Regions from separate parts of the Homo sapiens genome. Here region 2 is linked to region 1. The links are contacts of gene promoters, found by promoter capture Hi-C in human tissues and cell types (Jung and others, 2019). All regions are on one chromosome and are shown on one strand. The core of a region is centred on a gene start or on the middle of the fragment in contact, and the rest is flanking DNA. Distances in the headings are between cores, read along the strand shown. Region 1 holds the start of CRB2 (crumbs cell polarity complex component 2). Region 2 has its middle 18 kb from the start of STRBP.

Evidence for each region. Contacts are between HindIII fragments. The study calls those that stand out against the background at their distance.
Region 2: a fragment that was not itself captured here is called in contact with the fragment with the promoter of CRB2 in region 1 in 3 of the 25 tissues and cell types used here (bladder, liver and mesendoderm cells).

The regions. Positions count from the first base shown.
Region 1 is chr9:123,352,773-123,358,331 of GRCh38, reverse strand. CRB2 (crumbs cell polarity complex component 2) reads right to left here and starts at 2,135. Exons shown (of 13, transcript NM_173689.7): 1 at 1,978-2,135. The coding sequence starts at 2,071. RefSeq lists enhancers at 1-454, 3,835-4,004, 3,673-4,172 and silencers at 4,135-4,184, 4,205-4,314. The HindIII fragment of the contact is 16,000 bases long and covers 1-5,559 here.
Region 2 is chr9:123,283,591-123,289,149 of GRCh38, reverse strand. No RefSeq gene overlaps it. Among named protein-coding and RNA genes, the nearest start is that of STRBP, 18 kb to the right of the region's middle. The HindIII fragment of the contact is 4,577 bases long and covers 185-4,761 here.

The DNA of each region.
Region 1 (5,559 bases), core at 886-3,385:
ATTGTACTCCAAGATGCTTGGTCCTCTCCATGGCAACCAGCCGGGCCTTTGTGGCAAATTGGGCCCAGGATGGAGAGGCCCAGCTCAGGGCCTGGCAGGGGTGGGGAGAAAAGCCAGGGGCCCATGGCCTCCAGAAGCCCCCATCCCCTCCAGGATGGAAATTGGTTTTCAAGTGACAAAATCCCCAATCCCTCCCCTCCCGGCAGGCAGTCTAGGGTACCAGCATGCAGAAATGGTCATGCCTGCAGTGTACCCCACCAACTTTTAGGGATCCCCAGGGATGGCGCTCCCAGCACAGAAATGGCAGAGGAAAGGCTGCCCCTGGGCAACCCAGCAGGCCTGATGGGTTGAGTGTACACACCAGTGTCCAGACCCCCCACAGCCTCCATCCACTCTGTGCCTCCAGGTCCCCTGTGAGTGCACACTGAGTGTGAATGCACACATGTCCACATGTGCGTGTTGGGGTGTGCACATTGGTGTGCAGGCACATGCCATGTGTGTAGGTAGGTGCATGTGCTGGTAGATCCACATGTGTCTGTAGCACCTGTCCCTGTGGTGCTGTGTGCCCTTGGGCATGCCACACAGGTGTGCGGAGTGTGGGTGTGTGAGCATCACAGGGCAGGGGACAGAGCACCGATCCACAGACCGGGATCTCACGTGCTTTGTATGCAGAGAACAGAGAGGAGCAGCCACCCCGCCCCCCGCCACCATGCCCCACCCCTCTATGGAGCCCAAGTCGCCTGCCAGCAGAGCCCAGCTCATAAGTCCCCGTCCCTCTCTGAGCCTTGGTTTCCTTCACTGCAAAATGGGGTCCTCATCCTCCCTAGGGCCCCATAGAGAGGATAGGAAATGAAAGCTTTGTGAGTGCGGGAAACATGAGGGTCCCCAGGTGGGACTGGGAGACACTTGGCCCCCACACCCTACAGCCTGTGGAGCTCTGGGGCAGGGAGGGCTCCCCCAGCCTCAGGAGAGCCCAGGCCCTCCTTGGCTCCCTCCCCAGCCTGTGGTGGTGGGGGCAGGGGACTTCCCAGGCCCGGCCCCTGTAACTATAGTAACTAACACCAAGCGTTCCCTTGGACCCCCCAGGAGGAATTCCAGGCTCCGAGAGCTTGGACAAAAGCAAAAAGGGCTTGGCAAATGTGGTCTGGCTTCAGGGAGCCCTTTCAGATTGGCCTTGGAATGCTGGGGAGGGGGCAGCAGGGGACACACACATGTTCCCAAATCCCCAGCCACCCCACAGGGACCCAGAGCATCCCCAGCAGCCCTCAGCACAGGCAGGGCTACCGCACAAATGGAGGGGTGCGGGCAGGCACCCAGCTCCCTGAGTCTCCCTCACGCTTCTCCACTCAGTCCCGAGTTGGGGTCGGCTGTGCACATCCCACACCCCTCATGTTGAGAGCAAAGACCTAGTTCAACCCTGGACAACCTACACCCCACAGCGTGTGCTAGGACACAGCTCACCACACCCAACTCCTCGGACACAACTCACGGCTCACCCCAGACAGCTCATCCACCTCCCAACTCTAACACACCCACAACCTGTGCCCCACAACCCAGCATGCGACACAGAACAAGCTCTGGGGTGAGGCTTATGCCACCTGCAACTCCCCAAACTCAGCCCCTAGAAACCCAGAAGTCCCCCAGCCCTTTACAGGATGCAACACAGCACCTCCCAAAACACGCACCCCATCCCTCACCCGCATCAGCTCCCCCAAATCATGCCCAGCCCCCGATCCCCCAACCCCGAAACTTACAACCCCCCTCAACATGAAACAGCCCCGAGCCTCAGAACACACTCACCTCCGTGGAGCCCCACAGAGTCTGGGGGCCACAGCCGCGCACTCCTGTGCACCCCACAGCTCAGGCCTGCACCCACGCGGACCAGCCCACCCACCACCCCAGCAGCCAAGGCTTGGGGTATCTGTCTTGGGGGACAGACCCTCTCCCAGGCCCCTCCAGACATGGGCCCCAACTCACCAGCCAGGAGGGAAAGGGCAGGGGCCCAGAGCAGCAGTAGCAGGACAGAGGCCAGGGCCTGGGGGTCCGGGGTCCCAGGCCTGGCCAGCGCCATGGCAGCCCGCTCTGCGCTCTGCTCGGCTGCTGTGAGAACGGGAGGGCGGCCTGGCTGGCTCCGCACCCCCCTCGTCCCTCCAACCAGCACTAATGCTGTGGACAGAGGCCCAGCCCCTCCCTCCCCTCCCCGCCACCGCCTCCTCCTCCCACCCAGGCCTCCTGGGCTGCTCCACCTCGTGGACGTCCCTAGACATCAGCCCCAAGTCCTCAAGCCCCCTAGCCTGTGGGGCTGACCTGGTCTTGGCACCCACTGGTTTCTCCCTCCTGACCCTCTGCCCCACTCTCCTCCCACCTCTCAGGTCAGCCTCCTTGGAGAAATTTCTGTCCTTGGAGAGGGGGCTGTTCAGGACTCTCGTCTCACCAGGTGATGCCAGCTACTCCCAAGTCCTTAGTTATCCCCTCTCCTGGATCCCCCTCCCCACCTCTCCAGCCCGGGCCTCTCTCCCAAGCCCAGGCCTTCGAGTCCAGTCGCCTCCCAGACCCTGTCTCTGCTGGGAAGCTGCAGCCCCTCCCACCCAGCTCGTCCCCCCACCTGCTGCTCCCCAGTGCTCCCATCGGAGCCAAGGCACCTCCCATCGGGCAGCCCAACGCCCCCTCCCCACTCCCCCCTCCCCACACTCGGTCAGCCCCTAGCTCCTGGCCATGCCACCTTCTCAGTGTCTCCTGCTGTCCCCACCCCGTCCCACCCGACCACACACAGCTCCTCCCACCATCGGCCTCAGGATCAGCTCCCTGCAGGGCACCTCACCCCTGCACCACGGTGGTCCCTGCCTCCCTTTACCCTCTCCACCCTTCACCAGCCAAACTGAACCTTTCCCAGCTTTCTTCCACTTGACCTTGATCTCTGGCTCTGCTGTTTGCAACTCCAGCGACCTCACTGCAATCCAAAGCAGCCCATTCTACTGAAAGGCAGCTCTAACCAAGCAAGCATTGCTCTCCCCTGCCAGGAAGTCCTTCTTGTTGTCTAACCTTATAGTCTCCTGCTGCACTCGATGTTTGCTTGCTCTCCAGCTGGCCTCTTGTTGGGGTGGACAGGAGGAGCTCTTCAGGGGGACCTGGTTCAGGAAGCCAGGTCATCTCAGAGACACTACAACATAGAACAACATTCCTTTCTTCTACCACCCTCAGCCCCAGTGGGGAGAGAATCCTCTTGCTGAAGGGACTTTCCTGAAATGAGCCACCGGCCCCTGCCAATACATGCCTGTTTGTCCCTATTCAGTAACCGTGGATACAGCCCACGCAGGCCCTGGGCTCTGGGATGTGTCCCTGACACGGGAGGACACAGCCTGGAAAGACAGCAGGAGCCATTGAGGGAGGTCCAGATGAGCTAGAGGGATGGGCAAGGGTCCCCTGCAGTGCAGGGGAGGGAGCAGTGGGCACCACACAGGCCCTGGCCGACCCTCTAGCCCGGGGCAAGTGCCACAGCCCTGGGTCCCCAGGGACCAAAGGAGGGAACCCAAAAAGGCCTGGGTAGACTCCTTATCCACTGCCCCTGCCCCATCCCTGCCCTTGAGGCCTGTTCTCTCCAGGGCAGGGATTGCCCCTTGGTTTCTGGGACACTAACCTCTCTCAGTCCATCTTTAATCCCCTGCCTCTCCAATACAACAGGATCCCTCTCCCCAGGTGGGAGAAGCCCCTCTCCATGCCACAGGAAAAGCAGAGGCCTCACAGCGTAAGAGATCTGGGTTCGAGCCCAGCTCAGCCACTGATTAGCCGGTGACCTCAGCACGTGACTTCCTTCTCTGGGCCTCAGTCTCCTCACCTGTAAAATGGTGGCGTTAGTGAGCCAAGGCGACAGTGCCAGCTCTCTTTATCCAGCTTCTCAGTGATCCCCCAGAGACCCAGGCAATCCCAATGGGGGGCTGGGGGGAGCACGGCAAGTCAACCACCACCCTCTGGTTCTCTGGATGCACAGACACAAACTCCCACACTTTCACAGAGCGGGGAGGTCACCCGGCGCAGGTCCAGTCTCCTCTGCAGCCCGGCCCCCAGCACTGTCCTGCAGCCGCCACACTCCACCTTGTGGCCAGACCTGGAAGTGTCTTGTGAGGTCTGGAGGGTATGGAGGGGGGCTCCCCCGACAGCACCGGGTACAGGAGTCCCACGTGACGGGGAGGAAGCCAGGGAGTCGCTGGACAGCAGGCAGGACGGAGGTCAGACAAGGGCACACCATCTTGACCGCTCCCTGGTCCGGATCTGGAGAAGGCAGTAAGAGTGGGCCAGCTCCTCTGAGATGGTCCCCCAGGTGCATCCACTTCCCCTGTCCTCCCCACCTGGGAAGGGAATCGACATAACCTCAGTTTACCCCCCCCCCACCCACCAGCAGCACTGCAAAGTCAGCATTGGCCCCATTCTATGGATGAGGAAACCGAGGCACAGAGAGGTGAGCAGCCCAGCACCAGTGCCTGGCAGGATTCGAGTTGGGTCTGCCCGACTCCAGCCTTTCCACTGGTGAACCTCCGACTGCAGGTTACTAACTGCCCCTCCACTAGCCTGAGCATGACTTGCTGCCACCTCCCTGGCTGAGGGGACGCTGTCCTGGGCCGGGATTCCCACCAACTCTCAAGCTGATGGGCACATGCGACAGCAAGGTTCAGTGGTTGGGAGTCCCAGCTTTGGCATCAGGCAGACCTGGGTTTGAATCCGGTTCCTGCTCTCTGCCCTTAGGTGAGCTTTTGTTGGTCTGTTCCTTTTCTGCGTCTTAGTTCTCCCATCTGTAAATGGGATCATCACAGCATCTGCCTGAGAACATTGCAAGGACTGGGCGGCTGCTGTCAGAGCCTCGTCGTGGGAGGATAGTGACCCTCCCCACTGAGGAGCCCACCAGAAGGAACCCCTTCAGACCCTTCCAGGTGACTCCTGCTCTGGATCATTCCCCAGGGTCTCACATCTCCCTTCTCAGGGTCTCACTGGTTGTTCTGTTTGTCCCTACTCCCCACCCAGAGCCGCCCTTGCCCTGCTGGCACCTGTGGGCTGTGTCATGCTGGCTTCCTTCCATCTGCTTCCTGGAAAGGTGAGCCAGTGGGAGGCACAGGCCGGAGATGCCAGGGAGAGAGGAGATGGAGGTTGGGGTGTTTCTTCCCCTCCTTCTCCCTACATTGGGTATTGGGGTGAGAGTGACTGCAGCTCCAGCTGAGGCCCCTTCGGCTCTCACGGCCCAGGTCCCCCTGCTCCCTCTGTGTCTGAGTCTGGGGCCACCATCAGCCCTGACCTCACTGGGTTTCTCTAAGGCCTTCTCCATTGTCACCCATGCCCTCCTTCTTGGAACTCTGTCCCTGTGGGCTCCCCAACCCCTGCTACCCTGGTCTCTCTACCTTGTTAACCGTTCCTCACTCCTCCTCCCAGAATGTTGTGACCTGTCCGGGTCTGTCTCCAGCCCCCTGCCCTCCTCACTCCACATTCCTCCCTGGACAAGCGTGTCCATGCCCCAGCTTCAGTGACCAGACCTCCACTCCCTCCCAGCCCAGCTCTCACAGGCTCTCCACC
Region 2 (5,559 bases), core at 1,224-3,723, 70 kb after region 1:
AAAATGGGCTGGGCACGGTGGCTCACGCCTGTAATCACAACATTTTGGGAGGCCGAGGCGGGTGGGTTGCCTGAGGTCAGGAGTTCAAGACCAGTCTGGCCAACATGGTGAAACCCTGTCTCTACTAAAAATACAAAAAAAAAAATTAGCCAGGTGTGGTGGTGTGCGCCTATAATCCCAGCTACTCAGGAGGCTGAGTCAAGGGAATTGCTAGAACCAGGTAGGTGGAGGTTGCAGTAAGCCAAGATCATGCCACTGCACTCCAGCCTGGGCGACAGAGTGAGACTCCGTCTCAAAAAAAAAAAAAAAAAAAAAAAAAAAAAAAAAAAACAACGACATATTACAACATGGATGAACCTTGAAAACATTGTTCTGAGTGAAAAAAGGACAGTCATAAAATACCACATATTTTATAATTCCATTTATATAAAATGTCTGGAATAGGCAAATCCATAGAAACAGAAAGTAGATTCACGGTTGCCAAGGGGTTGGGGGTAGGGGAGAATGGAGAATGAAGGCTAATTTTTTTTTTTTTTTTGAGATGGAGGAGTCTCGTTCTGTCGCCCAGGCTGGAGTGCAGTGGCACAACATCGGCTCACTGCAAGCTCCACCTCCCGGGTTCACGCCATTCTTCTGCCTCAGCCTCCCGAGTAGCTGGGACTACAGGCGCCCGCCACCATGCCCGGCTAATTTTTTTTTATTTAAAAAAATTTTTTTTAGTAGAGTCGGGGTTTCACCATGTTAGCCAGGATGGTCTCGATCTCCTGATCTCGTGATCCACCCGCCTCGGCCTCCCAGAGTGCTGGGATTACAGGTGTGAGCCACCGCGCCCAGCTGATTGAAGGCTAATTAACGGGCACAGGATTTCTATATGGGGTGATGAAAATATTCTGGAATTAAATAGTGGTGATAGTTGCTCAATCCTGTGAATACTCTAAAATCCACTGAAGTGTACACTTTCACGGAGTGAATTTTGTGGTAAGTGAATTATATCTCAATTTAAAAAGTTTTACCTTTTAGGGTTATTGGGAAGTTTAAGTGAGATAATTTATATAAATTCCCTAGCACAGAGACTGCCTTGTAGTAAGAACTCATTAAATGCTAAGTAACTCAAATAAATGTTATCTGTTACTATCATTATTACCGTTGCTATTATTATTATTACTATTAGTAGCTAGTGATTTTCATCTGTTCACCTCTCCAGAGCATCAGACCTCTCACCTGCAAGCAGGCATAACAAGACTTTAATTATTTAGGGTTTTGTAGTCACCAGCAACAGAAACCTACTCAGCCTCATGAGTCAAAAAGGGGATTAATAGCAAGCCTGTGGTGTAGATGACTGAATTAAAGGGACAGACTAAGAACTAGACTCAGAAAGAAAAGGCCCAAGGGACAGAATCTACAGAAAAGACCAGCTGAGAAGCCATGGAGTGACTGCAGAAGCAAGAGGTTCTGCATCGGGCTGTCTATGTTCAAATCTAGCTCTACCCATAAACCTGCACGACCTTGTTTTGTTGCCTTGGTTTGTCCATCTGTTAGGGAAGACAGGGAGTATATCAGGGACTCCTTGAAAGAACTGTTTGCAGGATGAAATGAATTAATATATGTACAACTCTTATTGTGCTCACACTTGTAAATTCCCAATAAATACTATTATTACCATCAACAGGACTTTGTCCCTGGGATAATTCAACTCTGCCCATTTTTTTTTCTGATGATGTATAGCTGTGTTCAAGGTTCAAATTCCTAAAGAGTGTGATGAACACCTCTTGCCCAGAGAAGGGTGAAGCATCCTGATTGACAGCCCTGACAAGACCGAAAATACAGGGGCCTGTAGGATGATACCCAGAAGACAATCCAGAAGAAAGGGGAGGGGTGCCTAACAGCAAAACCGACCCAGGCCCCTGCAAATCCCCTCACACAATGTTGTTAGGAGGATTAGAGATAATATGTGCAAAGTGCCTGGCATTCAGTCGCCCTTAATTACTGGGATCCTTATTCTCAGCTTTCTTTATTAGGGGGTTGTGGATTTTCTTTTTTTTTTTTTTTTGAGATGGAGTCTCACTCTGTCACCCAGGCTGGAGTTTAGTGATGCGATCTCGGCTCACTGCAACCTCTGCCTCCCGGGTTCAAGCGATTCTCATGCCTCAGCCTCCCTAGTAGCTGGGACTACAGGCACGTGCCATCACGCCTAGCTAATTTTTTGTATTTTTAGCAGAGACAAGGTTTCACCATGTTAACCAGGATGGTCTCAATCTCCTGACCTCATGATCTGACTGCCTTGGCCTCTCAAAGTGCTGGGATTCAGGTATGAGCCACTGTGCCCGGCTGGATTTTTTATTACCATTGCAATAAACATTTGGGAAGAATTGCAAAAGGCTTCAAATGCCATATTAAGACATCTGCACTTTATTCTGAGAAACAAGCAGAAGGACCATCTCCTGAAAACCGCATGGCATGCTCAGAGTCCCTGAGGACTGTAGTATCCTTTCCTCATGGTCACACAGCCCTGTCCTCTCTCAGCTGTGTGATCATGACCCTAGGCAACTGACCTAACATCTCTGCCTCAGCTTCCCAGTGCATAAAATATGGTCACATTACTGGTTGCTGTAGGGCTTAAATGAGATAGTATTTGCAAAGTACTTAGAACAGTGGTAAGTGCTCAATAAGTTGTAGCAGTTATGGCACATAAAATGAAGTTAAAAATCTCCACCTCACCAGGTTGATGGAAAGATCAATTGGGATCAAAGAAGTTACAGCACTTTGCACATGGAAAAATGCCATGTCCCAGAAAGATGTTTCTTTGATTGTGATCACTGCTGGCAATAAGAAACACCTTTAGTGAAATTACTAGTTTTCCGTAAAATAAAGAAGCATTAAATGCATACATTCAATAATAAGGTGGAATTTGATCAGAAACATTAGACTATGAAAAGGGTGAGTCTAACACTGAGGAAATAAAATATTGATAAATTGATGTTTCAAATAATTAAAGAATGTTCTCATAGCGTCTATTACCAATTTCCCAAAACTTAAAACACAATATCGCTTACTTAATGCTAAAAGGGCACACAGCATAGTTTAGTCTTTCCTTGAAGCTTTTGAATTTCCTTGAAGGCAAGATCAGCAATTTTAAAATACACTTTTGGATCCTCTAGCTGAATGGTTCTCAACCCTGGGTATATATTAGCATCCACTGGGGAGCTTTTAAAAAATACTGTTGCCCGGGTCCCATTTCAGACCAATTAAATCTGAGTGTCTGGTGCTGGAGCCCGAGCACTGGAATTTTTCGAAGCTCCACAGGTAAACTGTTCCTCCTAGCAGTGGCCTAACTCACAGAGGGTGCCATGGTACTTGGAGATGAGACCAAAGAGGTCTGCAGAGGCTGGGCCACAGAAGGTTTCATACACTACAATTCGGAGGCTCAGTGTTATCTCATAAAATGTGGAGCCACTTCCTGTAATCCCAGTGACTCAGGAGGCTGAGGTGGGAGAATCACTTGAGGCCAGGAGTTCGAGATCAGCTTGGGCAACATAGTGAGACATCCATTTCAACAAAAAAGATTTCTTGAGTCCAGTTGATCCAGCCACTGCACTCTAGCCTGGGGGACAGAGTGAAACCCTGTCTCTAAACAAAAGGAAAAAAAGAAGGAGAGCCACTGAAGACTTCTTTTTCTTTTCTTTTTTCTTTTTTTTTTTTTTTTTTTTTTGAGATGGAGCCTCGCTCTGTCACCCAGGCTTGAGTGCAGTGGCACGATCTTGGCTCACTGCAAGCTCCGCCTCCCAGGTTCATGCCATTCTCCTGCCTCAGCCTCCCGAGTAGCTGGGACTACAGGCGCCCGCTGCCACGTCCGGCTACTTTTTTGTATTTTTAGTAGAGACGGGGTTTCACGGTGTTAGCCAGGATGGTCTCCATCTCCTGACCTCGTGATCCGCCCGCCTCGGCCTCCCAGAGTGCTGGGATTACAGGCGTGAGCCACCGCGCCAGGCTGAGCCACTAAAGACTTTTAACAAAATTTTTAATCCAGTGAGAGTTCAAGTTAGAATGACCATTCTGGTGACACGTGGTGGTGCACTGGAGTTGCAAGACTGGAGAAAAAAAAACCTAGAATGGAGGCCACTGGAACTATCTAGATTGTATCAGTTATTTTTACGGTGAAACAAAAGAGCCCCAAAGCTTAATTGCTTTAAAAAACGATTCATCATTTCTCATGATTCTGTGGAATGCCTGGGCAGCTCTTCTGCAGGTCTCTCCTGTGCACCTCATACAGCTGCTTTCAGCTGGCGGGGTGGCTGGGGGCTGGGCTCACCGGCAACAGCTGTGTCTCTCTCTCCAGCGCAGTCTTTCATCTTTGACTTCTCAGCGTGGAGGACTCAGAGCAGTGTTCTAAGAGAGAGGAGGTAGAAATTGCAAGGATTCTTATTTATTTATTTATTTATTTGTTATTTTTATTTTATTTATTTATATTTTTTTGAGATGGAGTCTCGCTCTGTCATCCGGGCTGGAGTGCAGTGGCACGATCTCAGTTCACTGCAACCTCTGTCTCCTGAGTTCAAGCGATTCTCCTGCCTCAGCCTCCTGAGTAGCTGGGATTACAGGTGCACACCACCACGCCTAGCTATTTTTTGTATTTTTAGTAGAGATGGAGTTTCACCATGTTGGTCAGGCTGGTCTCGAACTCCTGACCTCGTGATCCGCCTGCCTCGGCCTCTCAAAGTGCTGGGATTACAGGCGTGAGCCACTGACCGCCCCTGGCCCTATTTTTTATTTTTTTAATTGAGATAGAGTCTCACTCTGTTGCTCAAGCTGGAGTGCAGTGGCACGATCTCCACTTACTGCAACCTCCCAGGTTCAAGCCTCCTGGGTTCAAGTGATTCTCATGCCCCAGCCTCCCCCCAGTAGCTGGGATTACAGGCATGAGCCACCATGCCCAGCTAATTTTTGTATTTTTAGTGGAGACAGGGTTTTACCATGTTGGCCAGGCTGGTCTCAAACTCCTGACCTCAAGTGATGCACCCGCCTCGGCCTCCCAAAGTGCTGGGATTACAGGCATGAGCCACCGTACCCGGCCTCTTACTTATTTTTGAGACAGGGTCTTGCTCTGTTGCCCAGGCTGCAGTGCAGTGGTGTGATCACGGCTCACTGCAGCCTTGAACTCCTGGGCTCAAGCAGTCTCAAGTACCTGGGACCACAGATGCATGACGTGGCACCTGGCTAATTTTTAAATATTTTTTGTAGGGTTGAGGTCTCCCTATGTTGCCCAGGCTGGGCACTCCAGCCTGGGCGACGGAGTGAGACTCTATTTCAAAAAAAAAAAAAAAAAAAGATTAAAGAGAATTTCAAAGCTTTTGGCATGAGCAACTGGGTGAACTGTGGTGACCTTTATGGAGATATTGGGGACCCTGGTGAAGAAGTAGTGAATCACAAGTTTGGTTTTGAGTATGTTAAGTTTGAGATGCCTTTTAGATCTCCAAGTCCAGATGCTGAGTAGGCACTTAGCCACTGAGCCTGGAGTTCAGAGTGGGGCAGCAGATAGAAATTTGAGTATTGTCGATCGTT